Regions from separate parts of the Homo sapiens genome. Here region 2 is linked to region 1. Evidence: promoter capture Hi-C in 16 types of primary human blood cells and fetal thymus (Javierre and others, 2016). All regions are on one chromosome and are shown on one strand. The core of a region is centred on a gene start or on the middle of the fragment in contact, and the rest is flanking DNA. Distances in the headings are between cores, read along the strand shown. Region 1 holds the start of LMBRD1 (LMBR1 domain containing 1). Region 2 holds the start of SMAP1 (small ArfGAP 1).

Region 1 (4,437 bases), core at 1,196-3,695:
ATGAACAAAGGGAATCTATCACTTAAAGAAAAACTGACAGTATTTGATACCAATGATAATTATGAGTCAAACTTTCAAATGAAAATTGGATTTTGAAAGACTTACATCCACAAGTATGAGCTTGACAACTCTTCAATACTTAGAATTTTCAGAGACATTTCTGACAAGATCAGTTGTAATTTAATGAAATGTGATATTTTGATATTGTGTAATGAAACGTATCCATATTTAAAAGATGTGCATAACTCAGTAAACCAACATTTTCTAAGTGGCCATGGCATCATGTTATAAAACCATGCATGGGTAAAAGAGCCTTTCAAAGTGCAAGATGGGCTAATGGATTTTAATGTAACAATGAATGAAATGCTCATTGATAGGGTTTCAGATTCCACCTTGCAGCTGACATGAATCTTCCACTTGTTGAGCTTTGGTGTAGTGTCAAAAAACATCCACAATTATCTGAAAAACGCTCCTCTGTTTCTGACTACCTATCATTGCAGCTGTATTTTCTCCATACACTTCGACTAAAATAACATACCCCAAAAGACTGAATGTAGAAGGCAACAAAAGAAACCAGCCTTTCTTCTAATAAACCAGGATTTAAAGAGATTTGCAGAAATTTAAACAAAAGTCCTTCTTCCTAATGCTTTTATCCACGACAACATTCAATTCTGATTTTATTTGTCCTTGCTGTAATATTGCCAACTTAAATGGCCTCTCTTCTTCATCTATCCAAACTCTACCACAATTCTCATTTTCTTCCAATATTGTTGTCTATTCTCTTAAGTCCTGCTTTATTTATAGTCACACTTTGGCTTTCGGTCCATAAAATACATGTTTCAAGAATTTCAGTTTTCTCACTTATCTTCAGGCCCTCTTTAAAGCCGTATTTTGTTTGGTTTACATCCTCTTACAATTCACACCACTTCTGTACCGTAAATGTTTATTAATTTATAACTGCCAAGATAGTCTCACGTAACTTTCATACATTACATGCTTATTTATTTTTTTCTAAACAAACTAAATCTGATGGACTGGAAAAGCCAGGGGGCTCTCCAAATACAGGACTGGGTGGCTGCAGAGACCACAGTCAACCTTTAGGGTTTCATTTCCTCCAAGAGAGGACTAACATGTTCCAGGGTAAAGGCAGTGTTTTTATCTGTGACAGTGATGGCAGTAACAAGAGGATCCTTTTCTTAAATTTTCACACCATTCTTTTCTTTTATTTTCTTTTTTTAGTCTCTACTGCAAAAATCTACTAGAACATACTACATAGGTACCAGACACCAACTGGATCTGACAATTAAAGTAAAACCAAACAAGCCTGATTTCCAGAACTGGAGGTTTTTGTTTTGCAATGCAAAAAGGTCAAAATACGTGAGAACAGAAAGTAACTACAGCCTCGGACGATGAGAAAAGAGAAGATTTGAGAAGGTAGAGAAGTTATGAAAGGAAATAAATTGAACTCCCAAATAAACCAAAGGGTTTTAATATGAACAGGGAAGTAATAGCCAGGCCACTCTGAGACATTTCTATCTACACTTTGCTCACTGAATATGCAGAAATAAGATCGTTGGAAAAGAAAGCACCTGAGGTCAGACAGGTAGTAGTATATACTCCGATACTGGTAATAAAGAGGGCTACAGCTCCGCCCTCCACAGGTATCTACACCAATCAAAAAAAGATTAGAAGAGAATGTGACACCTGGAAGTCAGAACGAGCAACTCACGTCATCAAGGCAGAATCACACAATGGGCACAGAGGTTGGAGACTCACTAGCCCCAAGGGTAGGGAAAATGAGGGAAAAAACATACAGAGAAGGTGACAAGTAAACAACGCCAGCGCCTACTTAACTTGCAAAGATCCAGCGCTGCCGCCCCACACCGTGTGACAATGTTTTACAGGGGACGAAAGGCCACCACATACTTCTCAACCCCGAGGGTCTCTTCCGCCCCCAAACCCCACCGGCCCCATTGCCCAAGTCAGCGATGACGGCAAGAGCTTCCAAAAAGGACCCTGCAACCCTAGACGTCATCGGTGAAATGACAGCAAAAGAGACCGGAAATCGACACCCCCCTGCCCCCGCCGCCCGCCCAAGCCCCCAACACTAAGGAGCCCTCCACAGTCCAAGCTAAAAGCGGGGCGGGGCGAAGAGGGTCTCCGGGGCCCGGAGAGGCCAACTGCAGGGCCTGCCCCTCCCTTCCTCCCCCAGTCCAAACATGGGGAAAACTCCAAGCGCCTCCCCTACCAGTAGTAAGAGGCCGAATATGCACCAGCCGATCACCAGCTCCGCCGAGGCCGCGCCAGAAGTCGCCATCTTCGCTTCCGGTCCAGACCAACCTGAGCGCCCGGGGTGGGGAAAGGGGAGGGGGAAAGGGGAGAGAGCGCGAGATATACTGCACCCGCGCACCCTAAAGGTTAAAGGGGCGGAGGGGGAGGAGCAAGTGGTTGCCAAGGAGACTGGACCCACTAGCGTCCCCTGGCGGCGAGCCGAGCGGGGGCGGGGCAGCAAGGACTGCTCAGGGGCGGGGCGCGTGCGGACGCAGTGACATCACCACGCTGCCCTCGCTGGCTTCCCTGCAAGCTGAGATGTGGGAGGGCTGCAGAGCAGGGTGTTGGCTCATAGCTGGGCAACCTATTGAGATATTTGACTCAGCCTAAGTTGATAGACTAGAACAGCAAGGGAACTCCACAAAGAATGGGCTAGGTGGACCTGGAGATCCAAGTCAATTTTAGAGGTTTATACTTCTTCACCAAAAGGAAGTTTGGCCCTCGTGTACAAGGTGGAATGTGTGTGATTAGCAGAACTCCTTACCAGGTTGCAAGAATGGCTGATGTCAGGCCTCTGAGCCCAAGCTAAGCCATCATATCCCCAGTGACCTTCACGTATACATCCAGCTGGCCTGAAGCAACTGAAGATCCACAGAAGTGAAAATAGCTTAGCTGATGACATTCCACCATTGTGATTTGTTTCTGCCCCACCCTAACTGATCAATGTTCTTTATAATCTCCCCCACCCTTAAGAAGTTTCTTTGTAATTCTCCCCACCCTTGAGAATGTACTTTGTGAGATCTACCCCCTACCCCCAAAACATTGCTCTTCACTCCACCTCCTATCCGAAAAACTGTAAGAACCAATGATAATCCCACCACCCTTTGCCGACTCTCTTTTCGGACTCAGCCCGCCTGCACCCATGTGAAATAAACAGCCATGTTGCTCACACAAAGCCTGTTTGGTGGTCTCTTCACACGGACGCATGAGACAGCTGACTCTGAATAAAAGTTGACTAGCTGCCCAAATCACTCTAATTTACTGGCACTGGTGCCCAGCCGGGATAACTGGTTGGCTGGACATGAACTTATCACATGATGTTATAGCCTTTCTATTCAGATGTATGCATGCCTGTGAATTTCCATGATAGCTTTGTATGTAAAGGTATATGCATCAGCAAACAAAACACACTGCCATAGGCCCACAATGAAGAAGAAGGAGGAAACTCTTGGGATGGCTTACCTGAGTCCACAGGGAGGAAACTCTTGGGATGGCTTACCTGAGTCCACAGGGGTGTGAGTGCATGTTTCACCACTGTGATGTAGTCAAGAAACAACTCTGAGAAAAAATACCATCATCTTTTTCCAATGTATTATGTGGTGATGAGTTATGCTCTACCTATAATCTACTTCCGGCTGGAAGCCTGAGGGAAAAAATAGGATGGTCCTTCCTGCCTGGACAGAATAAGAAGGGAATAGGGGAGAATACAGTTTTAACTTGAACTGGTACCATCATAAGCTGGCTTTAAGCCCTCTAGACCTGCAAATGTTTGAATTTCACTCTTTCTTCCTAATAATTCATATCCCTGGAGACCTCTGTCATAGCTTCCTTAAAGTGAAGAGAGGTATCGCTTCCAGGTTGATATCTCTATTCCAGATTGTATAGAGCACCCTTGACATAAGTAACTACTTCTTAGAAAAAGATTCTGTTTACATTTCAAAAGGAATCATGCCAAAAGGGACCAGATGTTCACCTAATCAATAGAGACTGCACCCAACCAGATAACGACATAACCAGGCACACTCTTTTATTATTATTATTATTATTATTATTATTATTATTATACTTTAAGTTCTAGGGTACATGTGCACAACGTGCAGATTTGTTACATATGCATACATGTGCCATGTTGAGGTGCTGCACCCATTAACTAGTCTTACATCAGGTATATCTCCTAATGCTATCCCTCCCCACTTTCCCCCACCCTACAACAGGGCCCAGTGTGTGATGTTCCCCTTCCTGTGTCCAAGTGTTCTCATTGTTCAATTCCCACCTATGAGTGAGAACATGTGGTGTTTGGTTTTCTGTCCTTGCAATAGTTTGCTGAGAATGATGTTTTCCAGCTTCATCCATGTCCCTACAAAGAACATGAACTCATCCTTTTTT
Region 2 (4,437 bases), core at 888-3,387, 870 kb after region 1:
CGCCGCCCCTCCTCCCGTTCCAGCTGCCGCTGCCGCTTCCTGGGCTGAGTCCGCCCGCGGTCCCGGCGGCGCCAGGTGCGTTCACTCTGCCCGGCTCCAGCCAGCGTCCGCCGCCGCCGTAGCTGCCCCAGGCTCCCCGCCCCGCTGCCGAGATGGCGACGCGCTCCTGTCGGGAGAAGGCTCAGAAGCTGAACGAGCAGCACCAGCTCATCCTATCCAAGCTTCTGAGGGAGGAGGACAACAAGTACTGCGCCGACTGCGAGGCCAAAGGTAGCTTGGACGTCGTCGCTGCCCACGGTCGGGGCCTCTTGCGACCGGTGACCTTCCCGCCGCTGCGGCGCTCGGGGCCCGAGCGGACGCCTCGGCTTCGCTGGCCGGCTCCTGCCCTGACTGGAGGGCGGGTGGCTGAGCGGGCGGGCGCGGGGCTCCTGTCGACCCTCAAGTCCGCCAGAGGCGGCGGCGAGGTCAGGCCCGCAGGCCCTGTCAGTGGCCCCAGCCTCCCCTCCTCCCAGACACGGGTTTGAGCAGGTGCCAGGGTAGCGATGCTCGGACCCTCCACAGGGCTGGGGGTAGGAGCGAGGCTGGGAGCGCGGAACCGGGCACGGGTCTGGGCAGAGCTTAGGGTTAGAGAGTTGCCCTCCTAGCTCTGCTCATAGCTATCTCTGTGGGTGGGGCCGCGCTTAGGTCTGGATCCCCTCCTCTACCCTCCGGTGTGACCACGTCCTCCCACTCCGGGCTCGGATTCTTGGTCTCCTAGATGGAGCCCTACCTGCCTGCCCACCTGACAGCTTTTGTACAAGGCTTTTATCTCTGCTTCCTGAAAAAGAGTATGGTGGTCTTTTTCGGTGGGTTTGAGTTTTACGGAATAAATTAATTGGAGAAAGGTCTTTATTAGTAGTAGTATTGTTTTTTAGTCTGGTTATTAGCCAGAATGAAGAGGAATTTCATTACATGAGTCTCTTGGAGGACGGTGGGTTTGTATTTCTGAAGATTTTAGTAATTAGGTTTTCTCTGACCAGCTAGTTTGGGAGAATATGTGGACACTGATTTGTGTACCTCATAAATGCTGAAGGTTCATTTTAAAGATCTAGAGATGGAAAAAACCTAATTTTAGTTTTTTCGGTTGGAGGGCTTCTGCCTCAGCCTTTGAAACAGATATACTATTTTTAGCTGCTATGTTTTGTGTTTGGAGATCTGATTTATGTTTAATGTCTTGTAAGTAATCTCAAGGGAAATATTTCTTTTTTTTTTAAAGAAATGTCTTGTGTAGTTAAGAAAAGATCGTGTATATTTTTAATTGGTTTATTTCGTTATTGGGTGAGAAATAGGGTAGTTCTCTAAAGCAGGAGACAGTCTCTTTGGGGAATGTCCTTTAAGATTTCTGTGTTATTTGACTTAGACTTTTCCTGAAGCTTTACTGTTCTATCTCAATACTATATAAATGAGTCACATTTCAGTAGGCTGATAATATTTGACTAGACTGAGCCACACAGCATCAGCAGGTTACTTCACTGTCGTAACAGGTACTGAATTACTAGAAGAATCATGCGGGAATACTGTAACTAGATTATTTTTATGAAGCACTTTTCAATATAGTAACTTGATTGAGTCAAGATTATATTTATCCTATGTAACCTTTTCAGGTGATGAGTTTTTACAAAGTCCGTGCCTGGTTCTTGTAATACTTGTTTTCCTAGTAACTTGATTGTGTGTGGTTATTTGGGAGTTCTGCACTGTGTTTAGGCTCAGTTGCTTGCTCATTGACTGCACTAGCAAAACACTGAAAAATGGTCCTTTAAAAGGCCAAGAAGAAGAAAGAAGCTGAAGCTAAATAGTACACATTTTGTCATTTTGAGTAATAACATGGTTAAGTAGAGATGCTGGTAAATATTAAATCTGTTCATTAAAAGTCGAATAGTAACAGTTTCAGAATTAACCTTCCTTCATCTACAGACTTTATTAAAAATAATTTAATTTTTGTTCAAATTTCTGTCTCCAAAAAAGTACTTTATAAAATCAGATTTTCACTAATGCTTTCTAAAATAATACAGATTTTTAAAAGCCATTATTAACCATGTTAACTTTTTTTTTTTTTATTTACTCTTTTGAGGTGGGGAGAAGAGAATCATGTACTTCTTAAATTAGGATCAAAAGTTTTACTTCTTTGGACCTGAAGAATAGGAAGTATTCGTTTTGCTCAGTGTTTGTATTGCCACGGAAATCAGTAGATATATATTGAATGAATGTCTTTTGTATTTTGGTTTTGTCTGGCCTTTTGTTGGTTTACTTGTTTTGAGAAGTGAAGGAAGTGGGAGAGAAGAGAATGGTATCAAGAGTACAAGGGTGCAGCTTGAAGGGCATGAACTCCACAGTATAATTTACAAGGATTATTTTTTTCTTGTTGCTACTAAATCTAGAAGAATATTAAAATGATCTTGTAAATAATTTCATTGTTTTATCTTGATCTTTCAGGCAAAAAATCACAGGTAAGGCCACTTATTGATTTAATTAGACTTGATTTCATGGTTGTAATAATTGAAAAATTCGACATGATAGAGCAATTGATGTAAATATATTTTCACAGTTTTTGAGTATTTGGTAAGGTTGAAGTACATTATGGAGGCTTTTTTAGTAGAATTCTTGGCTTGTTACATGATTTTGGATCTATATGCTAGGATGACATAATAAATATAGTACTTTTAAAAGATATGTTAAAGGTCTTACTCTACAGCTCAGTTACTAAGAAGTTTCATTCTGTGTATGTATTGATGTTTTCTTCACTGTCTAGTAAATTGCATCAAACTTTTCATGTACTGTATTTCAAAGTTATTTCCTAGTTAACTCAATTTTCTTTCTTTCAAAGAAGCTTCTTCCACTGATCTTTGAGAATATGTACCAAAACTAAAGCTTAGGATTTGAGGTGCCTGTATTATCTTGCCTTATCATAGTTGGTAGAGGTATGTCAATTGGGTTTTGACATTTTCTTACTGAATCACCAGCTGTGTTTCCTGGATTGACAGTATTTAGGAAGCAACGAAGGAGAAAAGGATGGCATAGGCGCCAGTTTCCTGCTCTTGATCCTGCTCTTACCAAATCTGTTGAACAACTGGAGAATTTAAGAACAGGCAGATGGAACTACTCCTCCTCTCTCCTAGCTGCATTCATGACTCAGTGGGAGTTTAAAGCAGCTCTTGTTGGTTATTAGTTGGTGGCACTTTAGGGAGCAGTGAGGACTGGGAATGCCTTGCCAGCTTCAAGTTTAGTTTTCAGTATTTAAAGTGTTATCTACAGGTAATTCTAGCTTTGATTTTTGTTTTTTTTTTTCACTTCTCTATTCTTTCACATGCTCTGAATAGGGCATCTTGTGTTGGACATCAGGAGTAGCCTGAACTTGGCTGAGTAGGGCTCCTAGAAAACATCGCTGGGCTTGGCAGGTACCACATTGACATGTCCCATGCTTGTTAATGTATATTTCTGAGATTTTAAAAGTGCATTCAAGACCAGCCTGGCCAACATAGTGAAACCCCGTCTCCACTAAAAATACAAAAACCATTAGCCAGGCATGGTGGCAGGCACCTGTAATCCCTACGTGGGAGGCGGAGGCAAGAGAATTGCTTGAACCTGGGAGGCGGAGAGGCGGAGGTTGCAGTGAGCCGAGATCGCGCCACTGTACTCCAGCCTGGGTGACAGAACAAGACTCCGTCTCAGGGAAAAACAAAAACAAAAACAAAACATATAGATAAAATTCACATTGAGCGGTTTCTTCCCACTATCCCCTCTCCCCAGCCCTTGGCAGACACTATTGCATGTTCTATCTCTGTAGGTTTGGCTGTTCTGGATATTTAATATAATACAACATATGAACTTTTGTTTCTGACTTTGACTTCATATGTTTTCAAAGTTCATTCATTTTGTAGCATGTGTCGGTACCTCACTCCTTTTATGGCTGAATAATATTCCATTGTATGGATAGACCACAATTTATCCGTCTATTGATGAACATTTGGTCTGTTTCCATCTTTTGCTAGGTTTGATTTTGAGCATGTTTAAATTGGTATGAAAGTGAGTCTCTTGCCCATTCAATTTTGGGTAGTCAGAAACATAAGGTTTTTTAACTCTAGAGATTGTTTTGTTTAGCCTGTCTGATATTGAGAGGGTAAGCTCATTGCTGAGATCAAACACTCGTTTCTTTGTTCCGCAGATCTTGACTTGAAGACACACTGTTAGATATTGTATTAGGTAAGAGAGCTAAAAAAATTTGTAAGACCTAAAGGAGTTTGTTTAGTGTGGGTTGTGTTTTTGCAAATAAATGATTCTAAAACGATGTGCTAAGTGCTTGTAATAATGGTTTTAAGAAATAACTACCTCTATACTTATTTTGGGCTGTTGTTCCCCTTGCACCTTGACTTTTGCCCATTGGTGGTCTTTACAGTTCCT

Evidence for each region. The method cuts DNA at HindIII sites, captures the fragments that hold promoters and counts their contacts. A CHiCAGO score of 5 or more calls a contact.
Region 2: a fragment that was not itself captured here is called in contact with the fragment with the promoter of LMBRD1 in region 1 in 2 of 17 cell types (total CD4 T cells and neutrophils); the score reaches 5.4 in total CD4 T cells.

The regions. Positions count from the first base shown.
Region 1 is chr6:69,794,565-69,799,001 of GRCh38, forward strand. It overlaps LMBRD1 (LMBR1 domain containing 1), which reads right to left and starts at 2,446. Exons shown (of 16, transcript NM_018368.4): 1 at 2,249-2,446. The coding sequence starts at 2,317. RefSeq lists enhancers at 1,397-1,953, 1,778-1,827, 1,954-2,509, 2,138-2,367. The HindIII fragment of the contact is 19,066 bases long and covers 1-4,437 here.
Region 2 is chr6:70,667,872-70,672,308 of GRCh38, forward strand. SMAP1 (small ArfGAP 1) reads left to right here and starts at 12. Exons shown (of 11, transcript NM_001044305.3): 1 at 12-270. The coding sequence starts at 153. RefSeq lists silencers at 1-193, 344-573, 694-753. The HindIII fragment of the contact is 1,454 bases long and covers 1,411-2,864 here.